Linked DNA regions of Homo sapiens: regions 2, 3, 4, 5, 6 and 7 are each linked to region 1. The links are contacts of gene promoters, found by promoter capture Hi-C in blood cells and fetal thymus (Javierre and others, 2016). All regions are on one chromosome and are shown on one strand. The core of a region is centred on a gene start or on the middle of the fragment in contact, and the rest is flanking DNA. Distances in the headings are between cores, read along the strand shown.

Region 1 (2,939 bases), core at 119-2,618:
AGCGCCCACCACCACGCCTGGCTAATTTTCGTATTTTTAGTAGAGACGGGGCTTTGCCATGTTGGCCAGGCTGGCCTTGAACTCTTGACCTCAGGTGATCCGCCCGCCTCGGCCTCCCGAAGTACTGCATTTACAGGCGTGAGCCACTGCGCCCGGCCGCCAATATGATCTTGGATAGTCCTAACAGTTACTCTTAGCAGGCTTTCAAAGCACCAGAGATTGCAGCAAAACGCACACAAAGAAAATGATTATGATGACATACACAAAATATAATCCATTTAAAAAAAACCTCACACTGTGTGTGTGTGTATATATATATTATACGTATACGTATATATATGTATATATATATATATATAACCCTGCAAACAAGAAAACTACTTACTACAAAGGATGAATTTTTCTTTCACACAATTTTCATCCTGGCATCCCTATAACTACCAAAACACAGCCGAATATCTGAGAAATGTTGGTGCAAATGCTAGAGACGAATAGAGTCAGGCAACTTAAAAGTGTTCTTCATACTTACGTTGCTGTGACGAGCAACATAAAAAGAACAGAGTGTCTAAAGTCAGAAAAACCACTGAAGTCACAACTTTTTGGGGGGTGTCAGCTTCTACCTCATGTACCAGGAATAACCAACTTAGCCTACTTCACAGTGTTACTCTAATAGTTAAATGAGAAAGTGATCTGTCAAGTGTTTCCCAAATGCTCAAAACCACCCTTCCACATTGAGCAAGAATAAAATAGCATCTGGTTACCCTTCCCAAGGTGATCTATCTGCCTTTTCCCGCTTAGGATCTCATCGATCGCTTAGGAGTTAGACACGGTGGGTTAAGGGGTGGTGAAGAGACGGCGGGAACAAGCACTTGGTAGCTCAGAAGGCTAGGGCGGGAGCCAGGTCTTTGGACTGAAACCACTCCCACCCTCCCCCTTCAGCAGCTCCCCTTCCCCTTCTCGAGACACCTGCCCCACTAAACGAGCTGAGAGGATGGACCCAACCAGCAGTAGTCTGCAGGTGGGCACTCCAAGCGGGGAGCCGAGGCGCCCAGCACGCAGTCCGGGGACCCGCTGGAGGGTGGGCGGAGGCGGACGGCCCAGCCCACAAAGAAGAGGCGGGTAGTGCGTCTTTCCCTACCCCTCAACCTCCGACGGGGCCCGGAGCGGACGCTGAGGCGGACACACCTCTGTCTCACTTTACCCCAGGGCAAAATTCGAGTAATTTCAGGGAGAAGAGGACAAAGCATAGCGCCGGGTCAGGCCTGCACCCTCCCCTCTACAGCTCACCGTAAACCGCGTCCGCGCTTCGGGCAAACTGAAGAGCGGCGGCGTCGGAGACATCTTCTCGGCTGCGCGTGCCCGCCACTGCGCTGCGGCGCCTGCCGATGACGTCAAGCCAGGAGCAACGAGACTGCGGTCTCTCTGAGCCCGGCTAGAGTGGCCTGTGAACACCGGTCGGGCGAGCTGGCAGTTGGGAGTTTCCCTAGCGACTCAGTTCGGGTGGGCGTTGGGCGCCTGAGTCAGCCAAACAGCCTACTCGGGGTTCTTGGGTAGCCTTTGGGGTGAGGGGACTTGGGCGGCCTTGGTCTGTAAGCTCTGCGTTCCCGGGCGTGGAAGAGACTGGCCGCGCACATGCGTTTCTGTGGTTTTCCTGGTTTGGGGAAAGCGGGTAAATGGTGGCTGGTTGCGGCTAACTGGGCCGCGCTAAAAGGTAACCCAAGGCAGGTGGATTACCTGGGGAAACAGCTGGAGCAGTGGTCCTGGGCCGCCAGTCCGCGGTCATCCCGGGAGCTTAAGATGCGGAGTGGTGATAGGCTCCGGATGTATGAGCCCTGTGGCTCAAGGGCGCTGTTCTCTCTGCTCCGAAATAGAAATAATACCTGTCTCACAGAGCTGTTGAAAAGCTCCACTGAAATAATGACCGCAAGTGTGAACTGTAAAGCAATGTAAGTAGTATTTATTATTAAAAGGTCTCTACTGAAAGAAAGAGACCTAGGAGGAATGCAGTGCCCGGCGCTGATTGGAAAACGGGTGGCGCTGCGTCCTGGGCCGAGGCTTCCCTAGCGAAAACCTTGTCTCCCTCCATTTCGTCCCTTGCCTGCCTTCCCAGGAGAGACGTGGCCGATAGAAGCCGAGTGGCAGTAACTCTAAGTTGGAGTTACACGGTGGAGAAGGAAGCACTGACTCAGACTCGGGTAACTTCCTCTTATTCCCTCACACGTGTATCTTGTTCCCTTCTTCGAAGTCTGTAAATTTAAAATCCTAAGCCCCCCAACAACTGAACAGACCCCCGTGAGGCCAAGGGGACACCAGCAAAATCTTAACAACTGAGTTCCCAGTCATAACGGGATGGGAGGTCAGACGGACCTGGTTATACCCTCTCCCTTTTGTGATTTAGAGGAGATAGCTGACTGGCCATAAAGTTAAAATAGAGGCCAGGCGCGGTGGCTTACGCCTGTAATCCCAGCACTTTGGGACGCCGAAGCAGGTGGGTCACCTGAGGTCAGGAGTGGATCACCTGAGGTATGGCAAACATGGTGAAACGCTGTCTCTACTAAAAATACAAAAATTAGCCGGGCGTGGTGGCACGCACCTGTAATCCCAGCTACTCAGGAGGCCGAGGCAGGAGAATGGTTTGAACCCGGCAGGCGGAGGTTGCAGTGAGCGGAGATCGTGCCATTGCACTCCAGCCTGGGCGACAAGAGTGAAACTCTGTTTCAAAAAAAAAAACGGAGATGATAGGACTGACGGAATTGACTCCATGGCAATAAGATACCAAAGTATAAACAGGACCTAAGCCCATGCCAAGCAAGGGTTAAAAGTCATGCATCCCTACGCTTGAAAAATAAACTATGTTCTCACTATGCTTCAAGGTTTTTCTTTAGCAGCTAAACAAGCGCTGGCCTCACAGTATTAAAACAATTTGCAGTTCATCGACC
Region 2 (2,939 bases), core at 143-2,642, 470 kb after region 1:
CTCATCAAGGTCTCTATCAGGCACAACCTAAGATGACATGGTGATAAAGGTATTAACCACAAGGTATAGGTTCCCAAACTACAGCTTGTAGGCCAAAAGTGGCCTGCAGCCTGTTTTTGCACAGCCAGAGAACTAAAACTGTTTTTTACATTTTGATTGATTGACTGAGACGGGGTCTCACTCTGTCACGCAGGTTGGCGTGCAGTGGTGCAATCGTGGCTCACTGCAATCTCTATCTTCTGGGCTCAAGCAATTTTCCCACCTCAGCCTAGTGAGTAGCTGGGACTTAGGCATGCGACACCACACCCAGCTAATGTTTGTATTTTTTTGTAGAGATGGGGTTTCACTATGTTGCCCAGGCCCCGCAAAGCGAGATTATAGGAGCCATCTCGCACAGCCTGGTTTTTACATTTTTAAAGGGTTGTAAAAAGAAAAAAGTATGACAGATTGGATGTGGCTCACAAAACCTAATTTTTTTTTTTTTTTAAAAAACAAAAATGGATTGCCAACCTCCCCTACCATAGAGTGTCTAACTCAGAAGCATGAACTGGCGTGGCATATGCCTGTTGCCTATGTATAGTTTCTCAGTATAAAGCTTTTCTGAATTGTCAGATTCTGTGGACATTTGGAGGCTAGGAGGTAAGATTCCAAAACCAGCATGTCAACCAAAGCCAATAATAAGGCCTCTCAAATACCTACCACATATCTGAAGAGAAACTTTTAACAGTTTTCACTATATATTTAAAACAAAAAGTCAGAAGAGTAAAAAAGTCCCATTTTAAACTGTATATATACCATCTTAATTCTTGTGTTGGACTATAGTAAATAACAAATTCAGGCCAGGTGCAGTGGCTCACGCCTGTAATCCCAGCACTTTGGGAGGCCGAGGCGGGCAGATCACGAGGTCAGGAGATCAAGACCATCCTGGCGAACACGGTGAAACCCCGTCCCTACTAAAAATACAAAAGATTGGCTGGGGGTGGTGGTGGGCGCCTGTAGTCCCAGTTACTCGGGAGGCTGAGGCGGGAGAATTGTGTGAACCTGGGAGATGGAGCTTGCAGTGAGCCGAGATTGCACCACTGCATTCCAGCCTGGGTGACAGAGCGAGACTCCCATCTCAAAAAAAAAAAAAAAAAAAAAATTCAGCATACACTTTAGATTACTAATATTTTCTTTGGAACAGCCCTCATCCATTTTAATTTTCTTAAAATTATCTGTTGAAATATAAATACATATAGACTTTACATTTGTGGAAACATCTATTTTCTTGAGATGGAGTCTCGCTCTTGTTGCTCAGGCTGGAGTGCAATGGCGAGATCTTGGCTCACTCCAACCTCCGCCTCCCGGGTTCAAGCGATTCTCCTGCCTCAGCCTCCTGAGTAGCTGGGATTACAGGCGCCCGCCACCACGCCTGGCTAATTTTCAGTATTTTTAGTAGAGACAGAGTTTCACCATGTTGGCCAGGCTGGTCTCGAACTCCTGACCTCAAGTGACCCACCCACCTCGGCCTCTCAAAGTGCTCAGATTACAAGCGTGAGCCACCGCACCTGGCCTGGAAACATCTATTTTCTAAGAAACCGTATGATACAGGACACCACTGGACTAAGAGTTAGATAGCTGGTTCTAATACTCGTTCTGTTACTAACAAGTTTTGTGAATTTTAGATACCTCTCATCTTTTGATACTTCATTAATCTGTATCATTAAGAGCTCACATTGGATTATCTCTGACGTTCCTGCCAGTTCTAAAATTCCATTATTGGCCAGGTAATCCCAATACTTTGGGAGGCTGAGGTGGGAGGATCCTTTGAGCCAAGGACTTTGAGACTAGCCTAAGCAACACAGAGAGATCCCTGTGTCTACAAAAAAAATAATTTTTTAAATTAGCTGGGAATGGTGGCCTGTGCCTGCAGTCCTAGCTACCCAGGAGGCTGAGGCGAGAGGATTGCTAGAGCCCAAGAATTCAAGGCTCTTCAAGCACGGAGCTATCAGTGCACCACTGCATTCCACCCTGGGTGACAGAATGAGACGCTGTCTCTAAAAAATAAAAAATAAAAATAAAATCCCACCATTTCACTACACATACTATAATATTCTGGTAAGATTATTCCACATTTTAATTTACACTTTTAATTCAAATGGATACATGTATATATACAGATACCTGAGCAGCCATATCAACCAGCTGTGGAAGCTTCAAATACTTTCCATCTCCTTCCTTAAGGAAATCTAATAAGCTTCCTGTAACAGACAGCAAGATATTCATAAAAAATAAGCAAATCTTATATTAGGATTGAAATGAATACTCCTCCACCCCAAATCACAACACAAAACTTCTTAGCTTTTCATTTTTTTTAAATTTTGTGCAGTTTTGCAGTTTCCAAATAATTATCTAGGTCCTAGAAGAGGTCTCTAAGCTGAAATTTTGAAAACTTCTGATAACACATGCAAAAAAAGAAAATGCATTAACTTTACCTGACAAGAGGCATTTTTTCCTCGCTTTGATCAATATCCCAATTCTGATTCAAAAAGTAGTATTAAATACTTACATATTTTTAAGTAAATCTGAATCAAGAATTCAGACAACTAGGAATATCTTGGGTGTGGTTAAAACTAAATATAGGTAGCTAAATGAGTCGCTGTGGAACTACTGCTGTGACCAAGCTCTCTCTCTGAAAACTACAAAGTACTATGAATAACAGCAAAGAAAAAGGCTAGAAGTCTGATTACGGCTTCACTATTATTTGTTAAGGCTTATAATCAAGAGAAAACATCACACAAAACCAAATTAAGGCACATTTAAAACATAAAAGTGGTCTATTCTCTTCAGAAGTAACAATGCTATGGAAGACAGAGGAAGGTTGAGGAATGGCTCTAGATTAAAGGAGACTAAATAGAAATGACAACTAAATGGAATGCCTGACCATAAACTGGATCGGG
Region 3 (2,939 bases), core at 136-2,635, 450 kb after region 1:
ATCCTGGCTAACATGGTGAAACCCCGTCTCTACTAAAAAATACAAAAAATTAGCCGGGCGTGGTAGCAGGCGCCTGTAGTCCCAGCTACTCGGGTGGCCGAGGCAGGAGAATGGCGTGACCCCGGGAGGCGGAGCTTGCAGTGAGCCAAGATCGCGCCACTGCACTCCAGCCTGGGCGACAGAGCGAGACTCCGTCTCAAAAAAAAAACAAAACAAAACAAAAAAAAAAGAAAATTGACCACAAAGAATGAGTTCAATAATGTTCTGAATTTAATAAAGGATTGATTAAATTCTGCTCAGTAGTTACAAGTAACTGAACATTTTTTTCTCAATGGAAGAATAAATTCAGAATATATCAGTTTTTAAAAAACGAATGAGAATATGAATAGCAACTAAAACGATTAATAGGTGCATTCAATGAGAACTTTTTATTTCAATTATCCACAAAACAATATTACAATACTTTATAAAAATATTAAGTTTAGGCTACCATTATTCATTTAAAAAAGTGTGCTAGAAGGCTGTTTTTGCCAACTTCCTTTTTTGGTAAGGGTTAACTTCCACATTAAGACACTGAAGACGAAAAGCTGTTGGAAAATATCTCCAAATTTACAAAGTTGTTTTTCTTGGCAATTTAAAAATACAGAACAATTTAAAATGAATACACATTAAGTTAGTGTTTTATCCCTACTATACAATTGTTATTATATAAGGAACTGCTCCATTCAGTTAAAACCTAATGAATACCATCAACTTTTCCTGCCTTACTTTCCTGATTAGATTTAGTACATAAACGTAATTTTGTCACCCTTTTGAATATGCTTAGAAAAATTACAATATCATAGTTCACATAAAGCCCTTAAAAAATCTCATGTCACAAGTTGTTGATAAGAGGAAATAATGACAGCACTCTTCTTAGGAAGACCCTCTTGGTAGAGAGTGTCAATACTAAGCAGGTTACGTAAACAGAAAAAACAACCACAATTTTTAGTACCAGAACCACTGCCAACTTGCATGAAGTCCATCTTCACATTTTAAAAATGGTTTGAATTTGAACATATATGCCATGGCACAGAATTTCGAATCTGATGATTAAAATCAGGTAAATAATGATAGTTAAGAATTATATCCTGAAAATAGAGGGGCCTAATATAAGGCTTAATTTAAAGTGTGACTATATGAGAGTATTTTAAAACATATACACCAGACCTTCATTTTATTCATCAATTTTTCCTTTGCTAGACACTCAAACCACTAATGCTGCTATTCAAATCTGTATTTTGAAATTACTGAGTTACTCTTAAAAATTAGTCTTATTTTGTATGTTTCACTTTTGCACTTTAGGGTAAAAACTGTCCCCTTTTCACCACCGTTAATATTCAGAATAAGTTTTCCTCCCCAAATCAACCATTTAATGTATTCTAAAAGGGAAAAAATGACCACCATTACATAGACTTTAGAAGTGAATGTAGGCTGGGCGCGGTGGCTCACGCCTGTAATCCCAGCACTTTGGGAGGCCGAGGCGGGCAGATCACAAGGTCAGGAGATCGAGACTATCCTGGCTAACACGGTGAAACTGCGTCTCTACTAAAAATACAAAAAACTAGCCAGGCGTGGTGGTGGGCACCTGTAGTCCCAGCTACTCGGGAGGCTGAGGCAGGAGAATGGTGTGAACCTGGGAGGCAGAGCTTGCAGTGAGCCGAGATCGCGCCACTGCACTCCAGCCTGGGCGACAGAGCGAGACTCCGTCTCAAAAAAGAAAACAAAAAAAAGTGAATGTAGATTCAAACATGATTTGAAAACTGGAGTTCTAAAAATGTTTTACATAAAAACCATATCCCACTGCAATGAATGTGAAGCCATAACTTCATTATTTTGAACAAATACCCATTTAGTGTGTAAGAAAAATTAGTTTTATAGTTATACTTTATAACTCTTCAAAGTCTCAGAATATAGCTAAGTGAGGAGCTCTGAGTGCCAGCAAAGCCATTCTGTCACTCCATGACATCAACATTAAACATTACCTTCCATCCCTCTAACTTGTAAAACTTTCACTTTCTTTTCTCGTATTTCTTTTAAATACATTTTCCTCTCTGTTCATCTATATTCACCATGAGCAAAAGTGCATTCAAGTCCCTGATCTGGTCATATTTTCTATTTGTGGCACCCATCCCCATAAGGACATATAAGCAATACTCACAGTACGAAGTCTAGTTTTTAAAAAGGGCTTTTAAAATGCTGGGTCTTACTTTGCATGCTATCTAAAGATCAAAACATTTCCCCTTTGATTGGACAGTAGTTTCAATTATATATTGCCTTAAAAAATCAATGCAACCTCATACAAGATTAACTCACTTTCTAGTTACCTTCATTATTCTAAGTCAAACTCTTCAGAAAAGGACTGAAGTGAAAAAGTTCTTATTCTTTCAGTTCCATGAACATGAATATTAATGTACTGCATTATACTTTCAAATTCCACTTCTGTGGTCTAACATTTAATCAAGTTTGAGATCCTGTTTATATTCCTTTTGAAAAACCTGGCCCATGTCCATGCAAAAGAAAGCATATATTAAGATTGCATACTGACTGTTTAACTTAGAAAAAACTTTTGAGAATAATAAATGCAAGAAACTTTAAAAAACTGGAATGGAATTATTTGGTCCCATGATATTCCTTAATTTTAGATTTTATTATGGTATAGCTTTTTATCTCTCAAGTTTTATCTGTAACAATAAATAATTTTCTTTGAGCAATTCTGACTTTGGGGAAAAAAAGAAAGGAAATGATTTATAAATAAGCAGGAGCCTCACTGTCCTTCATTACCATGCTGTCACCCACACTGTCATCAGTATCTTAGCTCTATTTTGTTTGGACCCTGAAATACGCTGATAAATTCATCATTGGTACATTAGAGTTTAATACTTGGGGAAAAAAAAGTG
Region 4 (2,939 bases), core at 209-2,708, 440 kb after region 1:
AGTTTGAGACCAGCCTGGCCAACATATAGTGAAACCCTGTCTCTCCTAAAAATACAAAAATTAGCTGGGCATGGTGGCACACATCTGTAGTCCCAGCTACTTGGGAAACTGAGGCAGGAGAATCGTTTGAACCTTGGAGGTGGAGGCTGCAGTGAGCCAAGAATGTGCCACTCCACTCCAGCCTGGGCAACAGAGCGAGACTCTGTCTCTCAAAAAAAAGAAACATTAGCTAGGCATGGTGGCTTGTGCCTGTGGGCCCAGCTACTCGGGAAGGTGAGGTGGGACAATCATTTGAGTCTGGAAGGTCAAGGCTGTATGAGCCGTGATTGCACCACTGCACTCCAGCCTGGGTGACAGAGCAAGACCTTATCTCAAATAAATTAATAAATAATAAAAACTTTAAAAACATAAAAAAAGGATAAAAATGAATATTAATTAAGTAAATTTAATAAAGTCATGATTTAAAAAAATACCCAACCAAAAACTACATTGGTATATTCTATACATTTGAAAAACAACCCTCCCTCTCTGTCTCACACACAAGCACTCTCTTCACAGTAACCCTATTTTTTTAAATCATAAACAGATGATTAGGTAAGTAAGCAGAAGAACCAGGATGAGCTAATGGAATTTTTCATCTTTAGTGTGAGTGCTGTGTAACACATTTAGTGAGACTGCAGTGAGTCACCTGAAATATGTAGCAAGGTTAAAGTTAAAATGGGTTCTGTCATGTTGTGGTCTGAAAAAGGAGGAAGCCAAAACCCTTAGCACAAAAGAGTCATTAATTAAAGTCATGGAGAGATGGAAGTTGATTTATCCGTGCCTGAGACATCCACCAAGACAGCGGTGTGGGGCTGGGAATGGAGGAGGAGAGGGGAAGTGAAGGCCCTAAACACTGAGCTCAGCACCCATCCCAGAAGGGCTTCTTATCTATCTTAGTGCCCAGGGCCCCTCCACGTGTGCCCAAGTCAGCAAAGTTTAAAGTCTGGGCTGTTAACAGAGAGTGGGTCCAATGGCCTAACATTATCTTGTAAGCTCGCTGAGTTTTATGCAACCTTTGGGGGCTGTGCTGTAGGGTTTGCAGTATGGAGAAAGGCAGCGGCTTCATAAAGTACTCAACTTACAAACAAGGGACAATTAGAGTTGCAGAAGAAGCAGAAACAGCTCACAGCTCTGTCTTAGTAAGTGGTTACTACTCTGGGGAAAACTTTAACAGTAAATTGTTTACTTAATGGAGAAAAGCGGGACTGACTCACAGCATGGTCTTTCTCTGCCTGGCAAATTCCTGTTTGCTCTTCGAGACTCACCTCAAAGCATTACTTCTGCTCTGAAGCCTTCCCTGAGCCTTTTGGACAGAGTGAAGTTACCCCCTGAGATGGTTTAGACATTCTGCACAAATTTCATGTTGAAGTGTAATCCGCAGTGTTGGAGGTGGGGCCTGGTGGGAGGTGATTATTAGATCTTGGAGGTGGATTTCTCCTGAATGGTTTAGCACTATCCCATTGGTACTGTCTTTGAGATAGTGAGTGAGTTCTCGTGAGATCTGGTGACTTAAAAGTGTGTAGCACCTCCCCATTCCCTTTCTCTTGATCCTTTCGACATAGGACGTGCCTGCTCCCCCTTCACCTTCTACCATGATTGTAAGTGTCCTGAAGCCTCCCTAGAAGCTGAGTAGCTGGCATCATGCTTTCTGTAAAACCTGCAGAACCATGAGGCAATTAAACCTCTTTTTCTTTATAAATTATCCAGTCTCTCGTACTCCTTTATAGCAATGCAAAAATAGCCTGGCTCAGAGTGGTGGTTCATGCCTATAATCTTAGCACTTTGAGAGGCCAAGGTGGGCAGATCATTTGAAGTCAGGAGACCGGCCTGACCAAACATGGTGAAACCTCATCTTTACTAAAAATATAAAAACTAGCCGGGCGTGGTGGTGTGTGCCTGTAATCCCAGCTACTCGGGAGGCTGAGGCATAAGAATTGCTTGAACCCGGGAGGTGGAGGTTGTAGTGAGCGAGATTGCGCCACTGCACTCCAGGCTGGGCAACAGAGCAAGACTCTTGTTTCCAAAAAGAAAAGAAAAAAAAAAAAAAAAAGAACAGCCTAATATATCCTCTCTCTGTAAAACTTGTACATAGTTTTAAAAAACAGTAATTCTCAGACTGCACTATGATCATTTCTTTTATGTCTACTTCCCCAATAAGTTCGTGTGCTCCTTGTATGTGGGATTCTGTCTTCTGTATCTTTTTTCTTTTTTTTTTTGGGATGGAGTCTCGCTTTTTCACCCAGGCTGGAGTGCAGCGGCGCAATCTCGGCTCACTGCAAACTCCAACTCCCAGGTTCAAGCAATTCTCGTGCTTCAGCCTCCTGAGTAGCTGAGATTACAGCCATGCATCACCACGGCCAGGTAATTTTTGTATTTTTAGTAAAGACAGGGTTTCACCATGTTGACCAGGCTGGTCTTGAACTGCTTGACTCAAGCAATCTGCCCGCCTCAGCCTCCCAAAGTGCTGGGATTACAGGCCTGAATCACCACGCCTGGCCTATCTTTCTCTTTTTAAAATTACTTTGGTGCCTGATACATGGCAGCACTCAGAAGTCTGCAGAAGGACTGACTTGCTGGACAACTGACCGCCAGCCCTGTGAAGAGCAGTAACAGCAGCCACCTGGGCAGTGTCCATTGAAAGTTCAAGGAAGGTTCCCTTGCCATTCGCACATACACACACTCACAAACTCACACACTTCTTTTATATGCTTAACAATTTAAAATCTCTCAATGGGCCAAGATTTTTTTCTACAACTACTGAGAGCGCTGATGGTGCAAATATCCAAGGGAGAGGTATCACACTACCACCGAAGTTAGAGAAACTCTTTTCCCTCCTTCTAGACCCTTACCCTTCAATCTATCATAATTTGGCTTCAGGCTCTAATAATCCACTGAAA
Region 5 (2,939 bases), core at 216-2,715, 410 kb after region 1:
CAAATATAATCAGGTGCTGCACCAGTTCACAGAGGCCAACTCCACCAGCATGGGGGCAAACAGGAACTAAAAGGAAATCGTTTCTATTTAATACCAAGAGTAGGGCAGGGAGAGGAAGGGGTGAAAGGGAACTTTCTGGTTTTTCTTATTGCCCACAGGTGATTAAATCATTTATTAATATTTAGGAAGGAAATTCCAAGATGAAAATCATCAAAAATTCCCGGATTAAAGCTAAATGAGAGTTAGAAAAAAATCGAAATGGCAAACTACAGACTCCCATGCATGTGAATTGCAAACCATCAAGGGAGGTGTCTGATTAGTGGGGAAATGAAGGTCTGGTCTGCAGCCGCTGCAGCACGCTTACTTTCAAACTTTTTGGCCATCAGCAATACTGAGAGGTTCTCATTGACACTGCCCAGTCTGCAACTGTCAATCTGGAGGAACTGCAGGGCCTTCGCCTGTAGGAGTTGCTTAAATATCACTCTATTGTGGCACTGGAAATAGAATTGAAAATAACACCAACAGAAGAGTCAGCCTTGGCCTTCAGGATCTCTAAACCTGGCAACGCAGCCACTCTATGCCAATAATTATTCATCAGTGGCCGTCAGGAAGCCCAGACTGTATTTCTTCTTTGTTCTCGCTGGGCATGAGGCGAGCTTTTATAGCGTGGGCAGGGACCTTGTGCTCACTTCTTTACAAATCTGCTAATGCAACAGTGTGAGTCAGGTCAAAATCACACTGGCTCGCCATTTATGAGGGAATGACTGTCACAGCGACTGATAAGTGGGAGATGAAGCATCAGGATGAAATACGGTGACAGTGATGAGCAGGTGGCACAGATGACAACACGGAACCACGGCAGAGCAGTATTGCTCCTTTTGCCGGGAAAACTGAGAATCAGCTCCTCACGCTGCTCTGCTCGTGGGCTGACTGCAGCAGGTTTTGGCAGGCACTCGGGCTTCATTTATAAGCTCAAAAAGTGAACGCAGTCATGTTTATTCAATTTGAAAGCTGGCTTTCTTAAGACCATTTTCTGCCCTTGCAATAGCAACTTTAAATTGCTGCCTTTTCAATTTCAATTAGACACTTTGAAAAAGATACCCGACCTTAGTCATATAAATTGGAGAAATAGCCACAAACTTTTTCTATATCTGACTCTAGACTCTGATAAAATGACCCAGTTTCTAAGATGATGAAAATTTCCCAACTCAAAGTACAGCAGGTGATGGAGCCTAACACACAACTGTGTCCTCGGTCACTGGTCAGCGTGTACTGACCCCAAGGGGACGTCATCCACCTGTTGGGGGCGTCACTCACCTGTTCTCCTGTGGCAATGCCAATTCCTAATGGGACCAGTGCCTATAAAATAGAAGGCAGCCTGGTGTTATTTTCCTAAGTTTTGAACTGCAACTCCTAATGTTTAAAAACATTTATAGCTGAAGGAGGAAACGGCCCTGCTGTTAAGCCATGTGAAGGCTCAAGACTGGCAAAGGATGTCCAGGGGAACACATGCGTGCGGGAGGGCTCTGTGTATCTGCAGAGGAGAAGGTGAGCACTGCTGAGCTGCCACCACCAGCCCCGTTCCTGACCAGGGCTCTGCAGATCTCCTTCTGCGGTGTCCCGGCCCATGCTCCAGCTGCGCTCCTCCCAACGTGGACAGCACCTCCCTCTCCAGCCTGCGCAGTGGCATAAGGACAGGGCTATTCGGAGTGGCTCATTGTGGACTCACAGGGTCCAACCTTTGGACGACTCCTTCCTGTGGGTCATCACTCCATCAATTCCCTTCTTCTTGCCTCCCTGAGAAACCTCCTTCTAGAACCCTCTCATATCTTTTTTTTTTTTTTTTTTTGAGACCGAGTCTTGCTCTGTCACCCAAGCTGGAGTGCAGTGGCATGATCTTAGCTCACCGCAACCTCCACCCCCCAGGCTGAAGCGATTCTCGTGCCTCAGCCTCCTGAGTAGCTGGGATTAGAGGTGCACGCCACCATGCTGGCTAATTTTTGTATTTTTAATAGAGTCAGGGTTTTGCCATGTTGGCCAGGCTGGTCTCAAACTCCTGACCTCAGATGATCCTCCCGCCTCGGCCTCCCAAAGTGTTGGGATTACAGGTGTGAGCCACTGCACCTGGCCTCATGTCTTTGTTGATTCCAAAATCCTCTTCCTTAAGGCAGGAAAAATCCATGAAAAAAAAAAAAATCCTCTTCCTTCCAGCTCAGTGGGTGGCCTCAGACCTCAATCTGCAGGTTAGGCTGAGACCATTGCTCACCTGGTAGAGTCCTCACCTGGTGAGGTACTGGACTCTGCACCTGAACACAGCCCTGCTGCTCTCTGTCCTCTCACCTGGCCCCTGAACACTACCTCCGTCACCTGCCACCTGGACTCTGGGCGCTCCCATCCATCCTCTACTGTGACTGCGACTCCACAGCTACTCCGCACAGGTAGCCTTGGTTCCTCCCTGGCTTCCCTTCCCTTTGCTTAGGGTAATAGTAATCACACTGACAGCTAACATTTTTGGAGCTCTGAGTACCTGTCAGGTGCTGTGCAAAACACTGACTTAAATGATTCCTGGTCTCAATCCAATGGGAGAGGAGCCAGCGTTATCCCCATTTTATAAAAAATGATAAAACTGTGTGCCGGGTTTGAACTGTTCCTGGATCACAAAGCTAGAAAGTGGTAGAGACTGGGTTGGAACTCCACTGATTCCAGAGCCAGAGGAGGCATCTGAATAATCAGACTAAGCCAACTTCTCAGCAGAAAAATCCCTTCACTCAGCAGCCAAGTATCCCTGATTCCGGTGCTGGCCCCGCATCTCACGGGATGTGTGGCCTTGGGCAAGCCCCGCCTGTGCCACCCAAAGCCTCGGCCTCCTCATCTGCAGAAGGCCTTAGTTTGAGCAGATGGTCTCTAAGGCACCTTTTCAAGCCAACATTTTATGCTTC
Region 6 (2,939 bases), core at 244-2,743, 350 kb after region 1:
TGTGCACTATTCACATAGCATAATGGGTTTTATAAGGAGTATGAGAAAAATGTGTGTGGTTGGTTTTGCTTTCTTTAAAAATAATAGCGAACCACGTAGGTAAAAACTCACTTGAGAACATAGACTTTTGGAGGGAAATGCCAGGTGTGGTGGCTCACGCCTGTAATCCCAGCACTTTGGGAGGCCGAGGGGGGCGGATCACCTGAGGTCAGTAGTTCGAGACCAGCCTGACCCACATGGAGAAACTCCATCTCTACTAAAAATACAAAATTAACCGGGCTTGGTGGCGCATGCCTATAATCCCAGCTACTTGGGAAGGCTGAGGCAGGAGAATCACTTGAACCTGGGAGGTGGAGGTTGCGGTGGGCCGAGATCACGCCATTGCACTCCAGCCTGGGCAACAAGAGCAAAACTCCGTCTCAAAAAAAAAAAAAAAAAAAAGAATTTTGGAGGGAAAAAAATCCCTCTAACAGATTCGAATTAATTCTGTGTTTCGAGATGTTTACAAAATGAAGCTTGGACTCTGAGAGGATGTGATCTATCCTCTCCATTGCATTGAGTTTCAAGTACTTCACATGGCGGGCTTTTTTAACTGTCGTGAAGAGTTTAAACCAAATAGGGACTAGAATTTGTTTGTTTTTTTAACTTACATTTCAAGCTTCCTTATGTCTCAGGCACATTAGCATAAGTTGTCTAAAGTCATAAGGAAAAATTGACAGAAAAATGCTTTGGAGCCCCAGGTGTTTTCAATTGATGCCAACAGAAACTAACCAAATGGAAGACATTTGATGCGGGTTTATTTTTCCTTTGCAGTAACAGCGGGAACATGAAGCCGCCACTCTTGGTGTTTATTGTGTGTCTGCTGTGGTTGAAAGACAGTCACTGCGCACCCACTTGGAAGGACAAAACTGCTATCAGTGAAAACCTGAAGAGTACGTTTGGTTTCTTATCTGTGCTGTGTCCTGTTTGCATGTTGGTTGTCCTGCTGGCGTTTATAGTGAGTCGCAGTTGAGAGATAACCATATTCGCTGTTTTCACGGTGAAACGTTCTCAAGGCGCTTAAACCAGGTCATCCTGACGCCAAACATCTGGGTAAAAATAGAAAATTCCAATCACGTCTCTGCAGGCGTTCACCTTTCCAGATGTTTGTATCATGTAGATACAACTTGCCAGTTTTTTCACTGCATTTTTTTGTATCATCCAGATGGTTGGTGTCATCTCAGCACAGCTCTAATGAACAGTGAAATACTTTTCTAGCATTTGAAAAATTTAAACCATTAGAGTAATCTGTGCAATTGTTCTTAAACTAGTGAAAGAATGGGTTATAATTACGTTGAATCTGGTTGTTCTGTGGCCATTAACTTGCAACTTTGCTTGGTGATATATACTTTGGGTACTTAATATATAGAAGAACAAATTAGCTAAAATGCAGCTGATTTGGGGTCTGTAATAATCAGAGTCAAGAATGAGCTCCTCAGTAGGCCACGTTGGCTATTTTGAACAGGGAATGACAATGAATTTTAAACTTACTAAGGGCTTATTAAAGGTGTATAAGACACGTCCATTGAGTTATTAAGGAAGCTCGTATTACATGGGATACTTTCTAGGTCTCGTGCCTCCTTATTAGGTAACTGAAGCTGAAAGAAAGAGAAATTGCTGACTGTGTTTGAGGTCCCCAGCTGGGCACTTAATATAAATTATGAAGAAAATGCAAAATTTTCTCTAATATAAACACACTTGAGTCTTAAATGAAAGAAAAAAAATGGATAAATGAAAACAGGGCCTGAGCAAGATGACAAGAATGAGGTTCAGTGAACTCTATTTGTTTAGGCGCTCACAAGTGAGGAGTAGAAGGTATGGTCCGTGTGGCAGCTGGGTCCATGTGGCAGCTGACAGCTAATTCATTATGATCTGCTTTCAGAATATGAGCCTATAAGAGAACAATTAAGCCTCTCTTTTGGAGACATGAAAGGTTGGTGAACTTGGTGTTTTGTAATCTGATCAGATCTCAAAGAAAAAATTGCCACATGTCTTTTAGGTTTTTCTGAGGTGGGGGAGATAGATGCAGATGAAGAGGTGAAGAAGGCTTTGACTGGTATTAAGCAAATGAAAATCATGATGGAAAGAAAAGAGAAGGAACACACCAATCTAATGAGCACCCTGAAGAAATGCAGAGAAGAAAAGCAGGTACAGTCATTGAAAATAATGTCTGTTCTTACACAGATCTGGACCAGAAATACTGCACTTGTTAGTGCGATTGATGAATTACTTATTTTCCTTAGTAATAAATTTCATGGGTAGCTGCTTTTATTTGAGGAAAAGTTTAAGGGAAGCTTCAGATTTCCTTGAAGAACATATTTCGTGTAGGATAGGCTTCTGCAAGACTCCAACCCGGAATCTGGGGGATTCATCTCTGTTTAAGTGCTGCTTTCTCAAAAATAGATTATTCTTGGTCTCTTCTGAGTTAGGATATTGAGTCAAAAGTATTTGAAGAGTTTTTTTTTTTACTAGATCAGTGGTCTCCAGAGTTTTTGTTTTTTGTTTTTTGTTTGTTTCTGTTTTTGAGACAGAGTCTCGCTCTGTCACCCAGGCTGGAGTTGATCCCGCTCATTGCAACCTCCACCTCCTGGGTTCAGGTGATTCTCCTGTCTCAGCCTCCCTAGTAGCTGGGATTACAGGCTCCTACCACCACGCCTGGCTAATTTTTGTATTTTTAGAAGAGACGGGGTTTCACCATGCTGGCCAGGCTGGTCCCGAACTCTGGGGCTCAAGTGATCCACCTGCCTCAGCCTCCCAAAGTGCTGGAATTACAGGCATGGACCACCGTGCCTGGCCCAGAGATTTTTGGTCTCTCATTCCTATGACTAAAAAATTTGTTACCACTCACTCCTAAATATATGCATATTCATTTACTTATGAATTAGATACATGAATTGCTA
Region 7 (2,939 bases), core at 184-2,683, 310 kb after region 1:
GCACAGTTTTCTTTTTTTCCTTTCTTTCTTTCTTTTTTTTAAAATTTGAATGTCAGTGTCTTTAAAAAGGGCACAAACTCTCCAGGTCACTGTTAATCCCTAAATCCACCCTTCACAGGCAGCCCATTTGGCTTATTCTGTGTTACCTAACACCACTGTGGGCTTCTGACCTTTCAACCTCTGGTGAGTGAAAAATTCTCAGTTAACAGCCTCAGAGCCAGCTTTAGATCCTGACGTTCCAGGGCCCTTGGAGAAGAAAAGGTGGATCAAAGAGTAACCAATAGCTCAGTCTATGAGCTATTGGTTTAAAATGAGATTTAAAAATCCAATGAAGCCACTCCTGGGCCTCCTGGTTCTGCATTTTCTGTGGATGCCTGCACCTGGTGGGCGCTCTGAAGACCACTTACAGGGTGGGACAACTGCCGAATTGCAAACCCCATGAGGTTCTGCTTGGAGTTTATGTCAACATAGATCTTGTCTTTTCTCAGCCTGTTTCCATCAAAGCAATGCTTAATTGGGGGCTGATCTGGGATCTGGGAAAGAAGGGGAGAGGGCAGTCATTCTTTCACTGGATGCATTTAATTTTACTCCACCTAACAAGTTCAAAATGCCCTGGAGTTTCATTCTTCCTTCCCTTCCTCCTCACACTTTTCCATCCTTTCCCTTCTTTGACTCCCAAACCCAAATGGGGTATAAGTGGAGCAGATAGGGGTTGGGTAGGGGTGAGAAACATTGTAGATCTTTATTTTATTCACCTCAAGCCCCACATTAAATCCCACATCCGTGTTTGCTAAAACATATAAGGTTCTGCAACCCCGGTCATGTCCTTGGAGACCATTTAAAGTCATAAAATAAGCAATGTGTACTTTTTTGGAATGGTCAGTCATTTAAAACTATCATAGAACCAGCAAATGCACTATGAAACAGAAAGCAACATTCACTTTTTAAAAAGCTGAAACACAGGATTATAAAGACATTTGATGCTTTTTGCAGGTTTCTTTCAAATAGTTCCCTGTATCTCAGGGGATAGCTTTCAACTCTCCTTTGCTATTAGGAATATTTGGGTGAAAGTTTGAGAAACCGTGTGAAATTCTGGCAAATCTTTTTAGAAAAGTCTGCTTTTGTATCTGAGAGGAGTATTTTCTTATTTCGGGTGTTCATGGAATAAGGAATCATGTAGCCCTTGGCTGGACACTTAAATGTGTTCCTGGACTTGCCAAAAAGACTTGGGTTGAGTCACTGGACTTGACTTCAAATTCCCATTCAGAGACCACTGGGACTGTAAAACCTTTTGCTGCTGAGTCCATTTCTTGTAACTGGCTCCACATATTTAAGAATAAATAATTCAGCTCTGTTAGTGATGGTTTTGGGATCCCCCTCTACAGCCCCAGCACAGTTATCCTGGTTTGTAGGAGCAGCACCCAGCATTCACATTTTCTCTGTTCTGCATTTGTTGGAAAGTAAATAAGCAGCAGTAAAGAAGCTGTATTGTGCATGTTTTCTGCCTTGGGTGGCACCTGGAATTTGCTGAATTTGCTGAGTGCAACTTTAAAAGGCTCCTGAGCCGCACCTTTTTCATGCCATGCAAGTCAAATGGAAAACCAAATAATCAGCATAAGCAAGCTGTGAGTCCTTTCTCTTGGTCTCAACGGACTCCAGACCCTGTTGTGGAATTCCAGTGCTTCTTTTCTCCCCTCTTCCAGCTGTTAAGTCTCCATGACTGGACTTAAACAACCATCTCCTCTCCCCCTCTCAGAGAATCAATCACTGATTTTGCATAATACTTAGGACATTGTGGTACAAAAAAAAAAAAAAATTGAGGGCCCCCCAAAAACCCAAAAACAAACAGAAACCCGCCCATCTCCACTGATTTTCTAGGATGTCTCGTTTATTTTATGTCAGTCTCACTAGAACTTAAAAATTACTTTTAAAGTAATAAAGCTGATTTTCACATGCCTTGTATAGACTTTCACTAATGCCAAGCAAAGGCATTTTGCCCAGATTGCTTTCCCCAGCTCATATACAGAGTTGAAAGCAGGGAATGGGGTGAAGTGGAATGGAGGAAGAACAGATGTAAATACTAAGCATATTGCAGGTTCAGTGACTCGCCCCAGAATGGGACCCTGTCTTAGATCCTACAAATTCCTGTTCAATCCTTCTAGGCAAGATGCTTAATTATTGTTATGTGTAGGGAAGAAAATTGTTAGCAGCAGAAGGTATCCGAGTCACGTGGCACCAAAATGTATCACTAGTAGCGAATATCCAAGTTACCTTAATAGAATCCGTATGGGTCTGCAGCAACCTCAATTCCTACATCCTCAGAAGAAAGAATTCAACTCAGGGTCATACGGCAGAAAAAGAGACTGAGGCAAGTTTCAGAGCGTTTATTAAAACGCTTTAGAGCAGGAACATAAGGCAAGTGATACTGGAGACAGAAATTATTTTAAGCAGATAATGAGGGCAAAAGAGTCCTCGGCAGAACTTCCCTGCTAACAAAGAACAGCCCAAGAAATCCCTTCTTTTCTAACAAAGAGCAGCCTGGGAGATCGGGCTGCAAACATAGATAAGGAAGCTGGAAACTTGCACGAGGGGATGCCAGAAGCTGCACAGTTAGAAAGAGGTACCTGGGGCCAGGAATGTCCACCCTGGGGGCTCCACCTCCCCTCTATTTTTAGCACATGCACAGTAAGAAGGAAATAAGCGGCCGGGCCCGGTGGCTCACGCCTGTAATCCCAGCACTCTGGGAGGCCGAGGCAGGCGGATCACAAGGTCAGGAGTTTGAGACCAGCCTGACCAACATGGTGAAACCCCGTCTCCACTAAAAATACAAAAATTAGCCGGGCGTGGTGACGCACACCTGTAATCCCAGCTACTTAGGAGGCTGAAGCAGGAGAATCGCTTGAACCTGGGAGGCGGAGGTTGCAGTGAGCCCAGATCTC

The links. The method cuts DNA at HindIII sites, captures the fragments that hold promoters and counts their contacts. A CHiCAGO score of 5 or more calls a contact.
Region 2: a contact is called between a fragment that was not itself captured here and the fragment with the promoter of THOC1 in region 1, in 3 of 17 cell types (endothelial precursors, naive CD8 T cells and megakaryocytes). The highest score is 5.4, in endothelial precursors.
Region 3: a contact is called between a fragment that was not itself captured here and the fragment with the promoter of THOC1 in region 1, in 3 of 17 cell types (total CD4 T cells, M2 macrophages and monocytes). The highest score is 6.6, in total CD4 T cells.
Region 4: a contact is called between a fragment that was not itself captured here and the fragment with the promoter of THOC1 in region 1, in 2 of 17 cell types (naive CD8 T cells and naive CD4 T cells). The highest score is 6.7, in naive CD8 T cells.
Region 5: a contact is called between a fragment that was not itself captured here and the fragment with the promoter of THOC1 in region 1, in 1 of 17 cell types (M2 macrophages). The highest score is 5.5, in M2 macrophages.
Region 6: a contact is called between a fragment that was not itself captured here and the fragment with the promoter of THOC1 in region 1, in 14 of 17 cell types (M2 macrophages, M1 macrophages, megakaryocytes and 11 more). The highest score is 36.4, in M2 macrophages.
Region 7: a contact is called between a fragment that was not itself captured here and the fragment with the promoter of THOC1 in region 1, in 2 of 17 cell types (M2 macrophages and M1 macrophages). The highest score is 6.9, in M2 macrophages.

What each region holds. Positions count from the first base shown.
Region 1 is chr18:266,679-269,617 of GRCh38, forward strand. THOC1 (THO complex subunit 1) reads right to left here and starts at 1,369. Exons shown (of 21, transcript NM_005131.3): 1 at 1,288-1,369. The coding sequence starts at 1,341. RefSeq lists an enhancer at 1,238-1,707 and a silencer at 2,098-2,277. The HindIII fragment of the contact is 5,170 bases long and covers 1-2,939 here.
Region 2 is chr18:737,572-740,510 of GRCh38, forward strand. It overlaps YES1 (YES proto-oncogene 1, Src family tyrosine kinase), which reads right to left. Exons shown (of 12, transcript NM_005433.4): 9 at 2,164-2,240. Among named protein-coding and RNA genes, the nearest start is that of ENOSF1, 26 kb to the left of the region's middle. The HindIII fragment of the contact is 1,598 bases long and covers 594-2,191 here.
Region 3 is chr18:721,340-724,278 of GRCh38, forward strand. YES1 (YES proto-oncogene 1, Src family tyrosine kinase) reads right to left here. Exons shown (of 12, transcript NM_005433.4): 12 at 249-2,939. Among named protein-coding and RNA genes, the nearest start is that of ENOSF1, 10 kb to the left of the region's middle. The HindIII fragment of the contact is 6,786 bases long and covers 1-2,939 here.
Region 4 is chr18:702,366-705,304 of GRCh38, forward strand. The region is part of intron 2 of ENOSF1 (enolase superfamily member 1); the gene reads right to left. Among named protein-coding and RNA genes, the nearest start is that of ENOSF1, 8.8 kb to the right of the region's middle. The HindIII fragment of the contact is 7,432 bases long and covers 1-2,939 here.
Region 5 is chr18:677,379-680,317 of GRCh38, forward strand. ENOSF1 (enolase superfamily member 1) reads right to left here. Exons shown (of 16, transcript NM_017512.7): 12 at 1,318-1,359; 13 at 365-494; 14 at 1-66. Among named protein-coding and RNA genes, the nearest start is that of TYMSOS, 21 kb to the left of the region's middle. The HindIII fragment of the contact is 7,224 bases long and covers 1-2,939 here.
Region 6 is chr18:617,175-620,113 of GRCh38, forward strand. CLUL1 (clusterin like 1) reads left to right here. Exons shown (of 10, transcript NM_001393344.1): 3 at 814-932; 4 at 2,039-2,187. The coding sequence starts at 827. Among named protein-coding and RNA genes, the nearest start is that of CLUL1, 22 kb to the left of the region's middle. The HindIII fragment of the contact is 1,675 bases long and covers 657-2,331 here.
Region 7 is chr18:573,437-576,375 of GRCh38, forward strand. No RefSeq gene overlaps it. Among named protein-coding and RNA genes, the nearest start is that of CETN1, 5.5 kb to the right of the region's middle. The HindIII fragment of the contact is 5,186 bases long and covers 1-2,939 here.